4 separate regions of the Homo sapiens genome follow, and all the other regions are linked to region 1. Evidence: promoter capture Hi-C in 16 types of primary human blood cells and fetal thymus (Javierre and others, 2016). All regions are on one chromosome and are shown on one strand. Each heading gives the region's core, a stretch centred on a gene start or on the middle of the fragment in contact. The rest is flanking DNA. Distances are from core to core; before and after follow the strand shown. Region 1 holds the start of ITGA6-AS1 (ITGA6 and PDK1 antisense RNA 1). Region 2 holds the start of HAT1 (histone acetyltransferase 1). Region 3 overlaps HAT1 (histone acetyltransferase 1). Region 4 overlaps SLC25A12 (solute carrier family 25 member 12).

What was found. Contacts are between HindIII fragments. The CHiCAGO score rates a contact against its expected background, and 5 or more counts as called.
Region 2: the fragment with the promoter of HAT1 here is called in contact with the fragment with the promoter of ITGA6-AS1 in region 1 in 2 of 17 cell types (naive CD4 T cells and total CD8 T cells); the score reaches 6.2 in naive CD4 T cells.
Region 3: a fragment that was not itself captured here is called in contact with the fragment with the promoter of ITGA6-AS1 in region 1 in 1 of 17 cell types (total CD8 T cells); the score reaches 5.0 in total CD8 T cells.
Region 4: a contact is called between a fragment that was not itself captured here and the fragment with the promoter of ITGA6-AS1 in region 1, in 1 of 17 cell types (activated CD4 T cells). The highest score is 6.5, in activated CD4 T cells.

What each region holds. Positions count from the first base shown.
Region 1 is chr2:172,463,928-172,467,324 of GRCh38, reverse strand. It overlaps ITGA6-AS1 (ITGA6 and PDK1 antisense RNA 1), which reads left to right and starts at 1,303. Exons shown (of 2, transcript NR_157573.1): 1 at 1,303-1,501; 2 at 2,751-3,063. It overlaps ITGA6 (integrin subunit alpha 6), which reads right to left. Exons shown (of 26, transcript NM_000210.4): 2 at 1,662-1,786. PDK1-AS1 (PDK1 and ITGA6 antisense RNA 1) reads left to right here. Exons shown (of 4, transcript NR_199657.1): 4 at 2,751-3,059. RefSeq lists an enhancer at 893-1,062. The HindIII fragment of the contact is 13,641 bases long and covers 1-3,397 here.
Region 2 is chr2:171,920,627-171,923,950 of GRCh38, reverse strand. It overlaps HAT1 (histone acetyltransferase 1), which reads right to left and starts at 1,490. Exons shown (of 11, transcript NM_003642.4): 1 at 1,444-1,490. The coding sequence starts at 1,450. LOC105373740 (a long non-coding RNA gene) reads left to right here and starts at 1,562. Exons shown (of 3, transcript XR_923579.2): 1 at 1,562-1,912; 2 at 2,720-2,871. RefSeq lists enhancers at 1,216-1,265, 1,406-2,054. The HindIII fragment of the contact is 14,743 bases long and covers 1-1,951 here.
Region 3 is chr2:171,944,052-171,947,668 of GRCh38, reverse strand. It overlaps HAT1 (histone acetyltransferase 1), which reads right to left. Exons shown (of 11, transcript NM_003642.4): 3 at 886-961. Among named protein-coding and RNA genes, the nearest start is that of HAT1, 23 kb to the right of the region's middle. The HindIII fragment of the contact is 2,789 bases long and covers 473-3,261 here.
Region 4 is chr2:171,881,831-171,885,206 of GRCh38, reverse strand. All of the region lies in intron 2 of SLC25A12 (solute carrier family 25 member 12), which reads left to right. Among named protein-coding and RNA genes, the nearest start is that of SLC25A12, 11 kb to the left of the region's middle. The HindIII fragment of the contact is 186 bases long and covers 1,368-1,553 here.

The DNA.
Region 1 (3,397 bases), core at 54-2,553:
CAAGGAAACAGAGATGTGGTTTTTGGAATCTTTCAAACATTTGAAACATAAAGTACTTAGCTCTATATAGTTGCCTATTTTGTCCAACAATACCCTTTGCCCTCTCTTGATACCTAGGGTCCTGAATGCAGAAGGTAAGTGAAACTGTAAGACTAAGGGAGCCCTCCAAAATACATCTCTTAAGGCAACAATGTAAAATCTAGTATTCCAAACTGCAGCTACCATCCAAACTAACAAAAAAAATGGGTACTTCTCTATATACTCCCCAATTTTTTTATTTAACAGCATTAAATGTTCTCTTCTTTACTGGAGATGGAAGAAAAAGACTCAGATTTACTTTAGGATCTTGTAGCTGACAATGTATCAATGCCAAACAGGAGAGTTACTGTTAGTCAGAGAGACGGGGACCACAAACACCACCAGGTGCTCATTTCAGTATCAATTTAAACCCACTGTGTGACCTATATCCAAATTTTGCACTCCTCCATAAGTAGCAATACAGACACAGGTTTTAATCTTGAATCATTACAAAAACATTAAACAACTTTAGACAGAAGGAAAAATGCCAAAATGTTAAAAAATAAGTCTAGATACTGAGATTGCCAGTGGGTTTTTTTATTCTTCATAGGTCTGTGTATTTTACCAGCTTCTTAAAATTAACACATATTAGTTTCTAATAAAAGAACACATGTTATTTCTTTTCTTGAGATGGTATCTTGCTCTGTCACCCAGGCTGGAGTGTAGTGGCACGATTTTGGCTCACTGCAGCCTCTGCCTCCCAGGTTCAAACAATTCTCACGCCTCAGCCTCCTAAGTAGCTAGGACTACAGGCGTACACCACCACGCCTGGCTAATTTTTGTATTTTTAGTAGAGATGGGGTTTCACCATGTTGGCCAGGCTGGTCTTGAACTCCTGACCTCAAATGATCCACCCAACTCGGCCTCCCAAAATGCTAGGATTACAGGTGTGAGCCACCGACGCCTGGCCAACAAATGTTATTTCTAAAAGATGAAGAAGCAAGAGAAGAACATAGACACGAATCTGCAAATCTACTTAGACCGAACATATCAAACGAGGTTTGGCTAGAGCTTCTCAGTACACTAATTGCTCTGCTCAACCTACAAGAAGCCAGGTACACTGGATGTCAACATGCCTACCTCATGGTATCTTCTACCTATCCAGAGCCCTTAACAAAACAAGTCTCTATCTGAGACAGGAGGGAAAACTTTATCTCTGTTAGCCAGCTCTCATTCCAAAGGGGTCTGATATTTAAAACTGTCTTTCTCCCAAATATTTTAACAGCATGTGAGAACTTTTGGCTGATGAATACAAGATACGCTCATTCATTCTCTTCATTGCTATGAAATGAGTTTTTCCACAACCTCCTGCAGAACCTCAACACATCACTAGGTGGCAACATCCCTACACCATATCGGTTTAGAAACCACGGTTAGGAGGAGCAGCAAAACACGCGGCATCCCAGTATGATTCAGAAGTAAAGTAAGTAAATATTTTCAGGGCAAATAAAAAACAGTCAAGTCTGATGCAATTAAAAGAAGTCCTCTCTACAAGAATAAATGTTTGTCCCCACTCTCCTCCCTCATGGAAACAGTACAGGCAAGCTGCCGGAGTGAACGCTGAGTGAGGGAAAGGAACGCACCATCGTTATCAAACTCGATCCGCGTGCATGGCCCCCGGGCGGTGATGTCGCAGCTGTACAGCCCTCCCGTTCTGTTGGCTCTCTGCAGTGGAAGCGCTTCTGCCCGCGGGGCCCCCACGAGCAACCTGTTGATGAAACAGAGACAATTTGGAGATTTGAATTTAATATACGTTTAACAGTTAAATCAGTCAGAACTAGGAGATAGTGGGATTATTCTTTGTCTAGGAGTCCACTAATTCTTCAACAGCTTAGGCAGTGAGTGAGAACAAATGTAGAGTCCTATGGCTGGTTCATGCAAAACGCACAAACACAACTAAACAGGGGAAGCCAAAGAGGGGATACCAAAACGAGGAAAATAGGCCTGTCTCTCATAGTATCAGCATTTCTTGCTGGGTATGATCTGGTGTTTAAAAGACACCCTCTTCAAAGAATACAACCTCTAAGCCCCTATGATGCCAGGGATATCATATGAAACTCAAGAGAAGAAACCAAATACTTGTGACAATGGAAGGAAAAAATGGCCACACTAAATGTAATAAGCAATAATATGTCAGTTTCTAACACTGTGCCTTCCTGAGGTAGTTTTCAAGGGTAATTCTGACTATATCTTAGATTTTCAGTTTATATACTAATTGAGAGAACCTAATGGTAAGTAAGATACAACTCGACTGAATTATTCACTTGCAGCCTTGGCCTCTTTCCAATTCTTTTTTTTTTTTCCCTCCAGTTTTATTAGGGTAGAATGGACAAATAAAAAGCAGATATATTTGAGGTGTACAAGTTGATGTTTGTTCTTCCAAGTCAGTTCTTACTTCCTTGCACTTTTGTCACATTACAAGAGTTCGTCCTCTCTCATCCTATCAGTCTCCCACAAAGGATTCAGGGACAACTGGTGTAGCTCCACTTATGTACTAGGCACTGTAATATTCCTTCTTCTCCCCAGCCGAGTGTTTTTATCTCCTATAAGGAGGCCCCCAGTCCAAATCCACAGTCCTTAAAATTTCACCATCTCACAGCTTGACAGGCTCTTTAGAGATCCAATGACCTTGTTGCTAGGTCTCTTTTGCTAACACCTTTACTCACCATCAGGTTTACAATCTTTGAGGCCTGGCTGACTCATGGAACAACTAGGACAAGAAACAAAGACAAAGAACACACACCTGACTGGACAGAGATAAACCAAGAGCTGAGAGTTTTGGAAACAAGGCTGGAGCTGAGGAAAAGGACTGGGAACACGAACCTGTACAAACAACAAATTCTTACAACAGAAAACAAGCCACTCCTGGCCATCAAGAAACCCACAAATCTCAGAAGCAAAAGCAAAACAAATGAAAATACAAACCAAATAGTCTCTATTACCTTCATGCCTGTTGGGTCCCAATAAAGGAATCATTCCAATAAAGGATTCAACATATTTTTTTTAAACCAATATCATGCAGCAGGTGCCACCGGAGGCAAGTGTACCTGGAAAGCAGGGAGGGGGGCCAGATGATGCCCAGACAGAGAAGGAGGGGTGGCTCATGGATAACACATAGCCCCAGCACTGTCCTTCCTCCCAGATCCCTGGACAGTCACAGTCAGCCCCCACCTCCAAACCCACCCTACATTTGAAGGAACAAAACAGCACACACCAAGGTACAGAACTGACACACAGACTTTTAAATTAGGAACTGGAGCAGTGTCCTTGGTGCCTGAACCTTCTTGACAGAGGACAGAGGCAAGGCCGGGGCCACAAG
Region 2 (3,324 bases), core at 241-2,740, 540 kb after region 1:
CTTCGAGGAATGTAAGCAACAAAATTTAACCTGTGAAATCATATATTAGCTCAATCTGCACAATTCTATAAGTAGGTATTACATCAACCCCATTTTACATTCAAAAGTTCAGGCTTAGAAAGAGGTTTAGTTGAAGGGCATCCAACTACTAAATGATGGGCCCAAAATTCGAATTTAGATGTAATTCTTAGAGTACGTCCTCCCTCTTCTGTGGTACTTCAAGATCCTACAATCTCCATCTGGTAGAAAAGTCCTTCTTTAAACATCTGTAGAGCTCACACAACAGCTTGTCTATCCCACATATTCATAAAAATGGAATGGTTAATGTAGAGAGACTATGAGGAATGCCCTGTAAAGAGATGATAAAAGCAACAAAGGCCAGCGAAGTGGCTCAATCCTGTCATTCCAACACTTTGGGAAGCTGAGGCGAGAGGATGGCTTGAGGCCAAGAGTTCCAGACCGGCCTGAGGCAATACAGCCAGACTCTGTCTCTAAAAGGTTAAAAAAAATTGTTTTTTTTTAGCCGAATGTTGTGGCGCATGCCTGTAGTCCTAGCTACTCGGGAGGCTGAGGCAAGAGGATCGCTTGAGCCTACGAGGAGTTGGAAGCTGCCCGGAACTATGATCGCTGCACTCCAGCCTGGGCGACAGAGAGACCCTGTCTCAGGAAAAAGAAACTGTCCATAACTTCAAAAGATAAGTAATCGAAAAAAATAATCACACCAAAACAGCCTTAATACACGTACAAAGTAATAGCAATTATACATTATTAAATGTTGTAACTTGAAGGGTCTCTAGAATGTACACAAGAGAATTGTATTATAGTAGTCCAACCCTAAAAGAGAAGGGAGCAGTTCAGGAACAAAGTCTTTCTCAAAGGGCATCTAAATACGATCCTCGGAATACTAAAGTGTGACAGATTAACGAGACGACTACGAAGTCAGTCGAGATCCAAGTGGGAGCGCCAGAGCAGGGCAAGGCAGCAATGCGCTAGCTCAGAAGTTGACTGTAGTGGAAGGTAGACGGAGACCTGGAAGAGGAGGAGGATCTGAGCATTAAAATCAGCTGGCGGGAACAGGACCAGATGTACAAGAGCTGAAGCAAGCAGCAGTGGACAAAAGGAATGGGAAGAGAAACAGGCCCCAAGGCATGTGGCATTTTACGAGCCCAAATCATGACGCTTTTCCCTGGCGTCTTCGGCCCTCGGTAGGGGCCGGATTGCTGGCAGAAGGCGCAGAACCCCAAGCAGTTGGGGGCGGGGGCGCGGACCGCCGCCAACAAGGAGCTGCTGGGCTGAGAGTTCCGCGCTTCCGGTCCCAAGCAGGCCTTCTGGAACCCAGGCTACAGCCCGAAAGTTCTAGGCGGGCATTGTCACCACCGTCTCGGCGTTCTATCCCCGATCTGGCCGCCTCCTCCCCTTGGTAAACTTTTCCCGGTAACTTACCCGCCATTTCCGAGCTACGATCACCCGCGGCTGAGGAAGGACGAATCAACCCGCGCGCTCCCGGGCCGGAAGTGACCGCACAGTCTGACATATTTTCCCCGCCCACTCCCAGCGTGACGTTAGCCAATTAAAGGAGGCGTGTCCAGGAGCCCGGCGGCGGAAGCGCCTCAAGAGGCGGGGCTAACGCCGAGAAGTCTGCGCGGGCCGTTGCCTAGCCACTGCGAATGCCGTCAGCCGCTTTGCAGGCCTGAAGTGGAGAAGGAGGCCGCAAACGGACTTTCGCGGTTGAGATGCTCTCTGGCCCTAGGAAAGTTTCTCTGGGGTTGATTTGATCAATACAGACACTTTACGCCTGTTTTCCATACCCGTCCCTGAGATGTTTTGGAGACTGGCTGAAAATCTTTCCTCTTGGCCTGGACAGTGCATCCAAACACCTGAGCCCTGTGGGCAATTTTACCATTTTACCTAGGTAAAATGTAGAGGTTGAGTTTCAGTTGCGGGAGAAGCTTTCACTTGTTTTCCTCATTTGTTTCTCATTTTGCTGTAAACTTTAACACCTTTTTTCCTTTCTCCCCTGTTTTTAACGTATACAGTATGATATTTAGGTACTCTGCTTTCACTCTGCAGGTTACTAAGAACCGTTTAGCGCGCAAAAATCGTTACCTAGGCCGGGCGCGGTGGCTCACGCCTATAATCCCAGCACTTTGGGAGGCCGAGGCGGGTAGATTGCCTGAGCTCAGGAGTTCGAGACCAGTGTAGCCAACATAGTGAAACCCCGTCTCTACTAAAAATACAAAAATTAGCCAGGCATGGTGGCAGGCGCCTGTAATCCCAGCTACTCGGGAGGCTGAGGCAGGAGAATCGCTTGAACCCTGGAGGCGAAAGTTGCAGTGAGCCGAGATTGCGCCACTACACTCCAGCCTGGGCAACAGAGTGAGACTCCGTCTCAAAAAAAAAAAAAAATTGTTACCTAATAAATACCTCAAGTAGCCTGATGTAGTCTTGCATGCCACATGTCCTAGTGGTTTGAATTACATCACAAGGTGCTACCTGATTTTAGCCATAGGCCTTGTTAGTATTTAGTAGCTGTAGGAACTGCTTTCCCCAGAGGATAAACCACTATTTAGGTATCCACAAATATTCCCACAATGTTGGCTATACACCAGAATTCCTTATCTCAACAAATATTTGTTAACAGGTTTTACAGTGATGCACGCTAAAGCTAAAATGGACCCTTGGGATGATGGTCTAGAACTAACACGCCCTCTCATTTTAGAGATGAGGAAACCAAAGCCCAGAAAAGATAAACTGCCCAAGTTCATTCTCAGTATGCAACCTATGCAGAGTGCAGTTCATCAGATACTCAGCCCAGTATTTATTTGCTCAACTATATAGAGATGGCTTTCCTGAAGATAAAGATCAGAAAAGGTACTGAGAATGCCCAGATCCTTTTTCTTTCTTTTTTTTTTTTTTTTTTTTAGACGGAGTTTCACTCTTGTTGCCCAGGCTGGAGTGCAATGGCACAATCTCAGCTCACCACAGCCTCCGCCTCCCGGGTTCAAGCGATTCTTCTGCCTCAGCCTCCTGAGTCGCTGGGATTACAGGCATGCGCCACCACACCCAGCAATTTTGTATTTTTGTAGAGACGGGGTTTCTCCATGTTGGTTAGGCTGATCTCGAACTCCCAACCTCAGATGATCTGCCCATCTCGGCCTCCAAAAGTGCTGGGATTACAGTCGTGATCCCAAGAAAAGGTTTCAAGATCCTTTTTCTTGAAACCTAATGATACACAAGAAATTACAGTCATAGGCCGGGCGTGGTGGCTCACGCCTGTAATCCCAGCACTTTGTGATGCCGAGGCGGGCGGATCACGAGATCAGG
Region 3 (3,617 bases), core at 618-3,117, 520 kb after region 1:
GACCTCAGGCAATCTGCCCGCCTCAGCCTCCCAAAGTGTTGGGATTACAGGCATGAGCCACTGCGCCTGGCCTGGGACATATATTTAAAGTTCCTTCTAAAAAATAAACTTCAGGGCAGGTACAGTGGTTCATGCCTGTAGTCCCAGCTCTTTGGGAGGCGCAGGTGGGAGGATCACTTGAGGCCAGGAGTTCAAGGCCAGCCTGGGCAACATAGGGAGACCCAATCTCTACAAAAAATTTTTTAAAAAAAGCCAGGCATGATGGTGTGTGCCTGTAGTCCCAGCTACTCGGAGGCTCAGGTGGGAGGACTGCTTATGCCCAGGAGGTTCAGGCTGCAGTGAGCTTTGATCACACTACTGCACTCCAGCCTGGGTGACACAGCGAGACCCTATCTCAAAAATAAATAAATAAATAATAAATAAATAAACTTCTCTCAACTGCTTATTTGATCATAGAATAACAACTTAAGCTTTCTATTACAGCTTTAGGGGAATACATGCTACTAGAAGTAATTTAGCAAAATGGTAGCAGAAAAAAGTAGTAGTTATGATTATGGGCTCTGGAGTCAGATTGCCTAAAATCTATACTCCAGCCATTTGTATGTTCATGAACAATTATCCAATTCTATCAATGCACAAAGCAGCAAATAATAATACCATCATTAATACTGCTGTGAGAATTAAATAATGCATTTACAGCACTAAATGGTAGGTATTAAAATAACTGGTGTCTCAATGTAAAAAAACACCATTATAACATATATTTTAAGATAAACCACATTAAAAATAAGAAGAAAATAAAATTTGATTTCTAAATCTAAAAGAAAAAGAATGAAAATTTTTTTTTCCATACTAATTTGACAAATATTTTACTAAGTTACTTACTCATCCCCAAAGAGTTGATGGGTATACTCAGGAAAGAAAGTTCTAATGTCATTTTCAAGATCTTCAGGAAAACGAACTGTTTCAAGGGACAAAAAAATAGAGATATTAAAGATAACTAAAGATATTGAAGGTGACAGGTATTCCTATTTCATGAGTTTCAGTATAACTAGGATACAGCCAACATTTTTCTTACTAAAAGTGTCATTTCACCATTATATGATTTATTTACACTGTATTCTCAAGAGACTAGTGAACAAAGAAAATTAAAATATTACTTTGAGTGCTTCAGCGTCAAAACCCTACTTATTCTAAGAATCAGAAGGCTAAGTATGACAGAGGCACCTCATTTAGTTTTTATTTTTCCATGTTTATGCACAATGCAATGAGTAAAGGAAAAACAAAAAGACACTTTGAGGTAAGAAGTTACAGCAAATGAAAACAGAATGCTGTAAGAAACATTCTGATAATAACAATAACCTGAGTTTGATGAAGTCATTCTTTTTGACTGCTAGATGACATTTATGTTGTTCTCATGTTTGTTTTTTGCTATTAAAAATAACACTGCAATGACATCCTTATATACATCCTGCTGTACTTTTATAAGTATACACAGGGGAAATTCCTGGCAGCAGAAAACTAGGGGGAGAGTACTGAAATATTTGTATAAATATTGCTAAAGTGGCCAGGTGCAGTGGCTCATGCCTGTAATCCCAGCACTTTGGGAGGCCAAGGCAGGTGGATCATCTGAGGTCAGGAGTTCACGCCCAGCCTGGCTGACATGGTGAAACCATCTCTACTAAAAATTCAAAAATTAGGCTGGGCACAGTGGCTCATGCCTGTAATCCCAACACTCTGGGAGGCTGAGGTGGGCAGATTACCTGAGGTCAGGAGTTCAAGACCAGCCTGGCCAACATGGTGAAACCCCATCTCTACTAAAAATACAAAAATTAGCCGGGCATGGTGGCACACAACCTGTAATCCCAGCTACTTGGGAGGCTGAGGCAGGAGAACTACTTGAGCCCAGGAGGCGGAGGTTGCAGTGAGCCGAGATCGTGCCACTGCACTGCAGCCTGGCCAAGAGAGCGAGACTCTCTCTCAAAAAAATAAATAAATAAATAAATAATTGGCTAGCCATGGTGGCGCATGCCTGTAGTCCCAGCTACTTAGAGGGCTGAGGCAGGAGAATCGCTTAAATCCAGGAGGTAGAGGTTGCAGTGAGCCAAGATCATGCCACTGCACTCCAGCCTGGGCGACAAAGACTGTCTCAAAAAAAAAAAAAAAAAAATTATAGATAGCTAGCTAGCTAGCTAAAGTGCCCTATAAAAATATTGTAACAGTTTATACACCCACAAGCAGTTTATATACCCATAGCTTGTAGACTCCTTTGCTCCCTACATCCTTGAGAACACTCTGCTGTACTCAAGGATACTCTGTACCCTCGACTTCAATTTCTATCAATCTAAGATGGAATGGGTATCCTTTTATTATTTTTATTTGTATTTGTTGTGAGTACTGAAATACTAGATAGTTCCCTGATAAAATTTATCTTAGGAAGAAAATTTTATTCATTAAAAAATTCTTAAGCAATTGAAGAATGTAAAGAAAAATTGGAGGGCTGGGCGCGGTGGCTCACACCTGTAATCCCAGCACTTTGGGAGGCTGAGGCAGGCAGATCACTTGAAGTCAGGAGTTCAAGACCAGCCTAACCAATATGGTGAAATGCCATCTCTACTAAAATACAAAAATTAGCCAGGCATGGTGGTAGGTCCCTATAATCCCAACTACTCTGGAGGCTGAGGCATGAGAATCGCTTGAACCTGGGAGGAGGAGGTTGCATTGAGCTGAGATTGTGCCACTGCGCTCCAGCCTGGGTGATCGAGCGAGACTCCGTCTCAGGGGGAAAAAAGAAGATAAACTGTAGATGAAAAATTTCTAACACTGTCCTCACAGACCAGGTCACTCCCTGCATGCCAAAGTATCACCAGCATATTACTAATTTACAGAAGAAAAGGTATATTTTCACTGTAGAGATCTGGTAGTCACCTCCTTTCCAAATGATCTAACTTAGCATCATTCATTGTGGGACAGAACAACATTATGTGCCTCCTGATTCAATGCAATATGAAGTACAGTCATCCCTCAGTATACTCAAGAGACTGGCTCTAGGACCCCTGACTGTACCAAAATCCATCATACTCAAGTCCTGTAGTTCTGTCTGGTGTCCCACTGTACTTTCTATCTGCATTTGGTAGGAAAAAAAGTCCATGTGTAAGTGGACCCACACAGTTCAAGTCGTGTTGTTCAAGGACCAACTGTATGCTGCATCACCCATGAAGTTTTCTCACCAAAAATTTTTATCTTAAATCTAATCAAGCTTTTTACCTTCCAATTCACAGGAAATACAGAGGATAGAGGAGGAAGTTAAACTAATATCAAAAGGAAATACACAAATCCAGAATGTACATTTATCTGTGCAATGACTTTACTCTCCCAAATAAATCAATGTCATGTAGGGGAAAAGTTGCATGTGGACGGAAAGGGACTGCTCTGTATTAAAAGAGATTATTTAAGAAACATTACAACTAAATGCAGTGCACAATCCCTTACTGGATCCTTGTTTAAGTATTTTTTTTTTTTTTTGAGACAGGGTTTCATTGTCACCCAGGCTGGAATACAGTGGCACAATCACAGCTCACAGCAACCTTGAAATCCTGGGCTCAAAAGATCTTCCC
Region 4 (3,376 bases), core at 211-2,710, 580 kb after region 1:
TACCAATCAATACACTTTTTTTTTTTTTTTGAGACGGAGTCTCTGGGCTCACTGCAAGCTCCGCCTCCCAGGTTCACGCCATTCTCCTGCCTCAGCCTCCCGAGTAGCTGGGACTACAGGCGCCCGCCACCACGCCCAGCTAATTTTTTGTATTTTTAGTAGAGACAGGGTTTCACCGTGTTAGCCAGGATGGTCTCAGTCTCCTGACTTTGTGATCCACCCTCCTCGGCCTCCCAAAGTGCTGGGATTATAGGCGTGAGCCACCGCACCTGGCCGATCAATACACTTTTAATTGCCTACTATGTACCAGGCTAAGCACTGTACTAGGTTCTACCTTTATAGAGATAAGATAGAGCTGTTTAGTGAGGGTAGGGACAATACAAAGGACCTCAGTGAAGGTAGAACCTCACATTCTTTTTTTTTTTTGGTGGGGGACAGAGTTTTGCTCTTGTTGCCCAGGCTGGAGTGCAATGGCGCAGTCTCAGCTCACTGCAACCACTGCATCCCAGGTTCAAGCAATTCTCCTGCCTCAGCCTCCTGAGTAGCTGGGATTACAGATGTGCACCACCACACCTGGCTAAATTTTTTTTGTATTTTTAGTAGAGATGGGGGTATCATCATGTTGGCCAGGCTGGTCTCGAACTCCTGACCTCAGGTGATGTACCTGCCTCGGCCTCCCAAAGTGCTGGGATTACAGATGAGAGCCACCATCCGTGCCCAGCCTAGAACCTAACATTCTAGGGGCGAGGTGGACAATTAAAAAAGCCCACAGAGCAGACCACGAGGTCAGGAGTTCGAGACCAGCCTGGACAACAAGGTGAAACCCCGTCTCTACTAAAAATACAAAAATTAGCCAGGCGTGGTGGCGGGCGCCTGTAATCCCAGCTACTTGGGAGGCTGAGGTGGGAGAATTGCTTGAACCCAGGAGGCAGAGGTTGCAGTGAGCCGAGATCGTGTCATTGCACTCCAGCCTGGGCGACAGAGGAAGACTCAGTCTCGGGGGGAAAAAAAAAAAAGCCCACAGATTGGCTGGGCACACTGGCTCATTCCTGTAATCCCACCTCTTTGGGAGGCTGAAGCAGGAGGATCACTTGAGGCCACTAGTTTGAGACCAGCCTGGCCAAAAAAGTGAGATTCTGTCTCTACAAAAAAAAAAAAAAAGATAAAAAAGAAAAGAAATTAGCCAGGCATGGTGGCCTGTGCTTGTAGTCCTAGCTACTAGGAAGGCTGAGGAAGGAAGATCATGTGAGCCCAGGAGTCTGAGGTTACAGTGAGCTAGGGTCATGCTACTGCACTCCAGCCTGGGTGATAGAGTAAGACCCTGTCTCTTAAAACAAAACAAAAAACAAAACAAACAAAAAAAAGCTTACTACAGATTGTGACACGTCCAAGGAAGTAAACAGAATAATGAGAAGGGCCATCATTTTTTAAATCATTTTTCAAGAGAGTGGTCAGTGAAGGGCCCTTAGGAGGCAATATTAAGAGCTGAGAACTAAAAGGGAATGAGGGTGAAGTGGTGGAGGGAATTCCAAAGGGCTCACACGTACAAAGCTTAGATATAGAAAAGGGTTTGATGTGTTCAACAAACAGAAAGGCCAGTGTGCCTGAAGCATTGGTAATTAAGTATGGGGGTAAATGGCCTCCCAAAGTACTGGGATTACAGGCGTGAGCCACTACGCCTGGCCGATTCTTTCAATTTAATGTCCTCCTGTCTATAGAGTTCCTAGAACATCTTGAGCTGGATGAAACTCCTTTTCATCCAGAGGGCAGCAGAGTGTACCTGGAGCCTACATGGGATTTGTAGTCTAACCTGGGTTTGAATCCTCATTTGAAACCTTTTGAGCTCAGGTGTTTACTTTTGGAGCCTGTTTTCTCATCTGTCTAAGAAGGGATAATGACACCTAGCACATAGGGATGTTCTAAAGATTAAATAAAATAACATGTAAACTATGCAGAACCAAATAAAGCTTAGTTCCTTGTCTCTTTCCTTCTCTTCTAAGTTGAGATTAGGATGTTTTGTTTGTTTCTTGAATAAGATCTGAGTCCCTTGTCTTCTCCAGATGACTATGCTGGACCTAGTCAAGAGACTAAGATGTTAATATGTATTTATGATTATGTACATATAATCAGTTAATTACTTACATTCTTGAGACATCCATCTGAAGTTATTGACAAATACCGATTTCTCTCAAGTCTATGAGGTTCTAAGATGTTGTATAGTCACAGTCTAAGGCTGGGAGACCCGAGAGACCATGGAAGATGTTTGCAGAGTTTTCTTCTGAAACTTCATTCGCTCAGTCTGGACGTGTAAAAGAATAACGGTCCAGCCATAGGCTCTGAAATCCCAAGACACAGACTTGAAAAAATACATATTTTTTTTTTGTGCGTAACTTTCTTTTTTAAAATCACCACCTCCCTGTTCTGTGCAGATTTCTCTTACTTAGTACTGTGGAAATTTCTGAAAGCATCTTCCACTGAAACCATTGCTATGGCCAGCGTTGGGTTTCTAGAACTGGAAGAAACACACATTTTGAAAATATTAGTCAGTACTATTTCAGTCTTCAGTGACAGGAATTTTGGTTAAACATGCGTAGGCTTAGAATGTACTGGCTCTAGCCATGAGTGGATCAGGAGCTTAACTGCTGTCACCAGGGATCATGCACCTTTCATCTCTTAGTTTTGGTTTCTGTTGTGCTAGCTTCATTCTCAAACAGGCTTTGCCATGTGGAGCATCCCCAGATTAAAATCCTACCCATTCAGCAGAGAAAAGGTACTGTTTCTCCAATTTCTAGGTTAAGTCTAGGAATTATTGTCCTCCCTAATACCCCAAGAAAACCCATGTACTAGAAGGAGGCAGTGTTCTCATTGGCCAGATCTGGTTCACATGCTCACCTCTGGAACTGTTCAGTTGAGTCAGCCCCATTTGAATGACCTGTGTAAATTGAGGGTGAGGGAGGTGTGTATGTTCAAGAAAAATTAGCATGCAGTTACCAGAAGGGGGGAAGGAAAGCTAGGCACATTAAAACCAAGAACTGTTTATGTATAGCATATAAGGGATTGGAAAACCTGGAAGCCTAGGGGTGACTCAGGGAGGCTGGGAGACAGAGATGGCAAGAGATTCTGTGCCTCCAAGTCAACACTGCTGTATTTGGTAGCTTTCTAGAACATTCCAGTGCAGCTGTCATACTATCTGCAAAAATACCTTAAGTGAAATGACAAAAAATAACCAAAATTAGGACCCCTGAAGAAGAAATGTATCCTCACCTCATTTTTTCTTCAGAAAAATTTTTTCTCTCAGTCTTCTTTCTAGTCTTTTTCTTATGGTGGTCTTCCTCTCCCCATCTTCTTTTCTGTCCTTACCCTACCCCTCCCATCC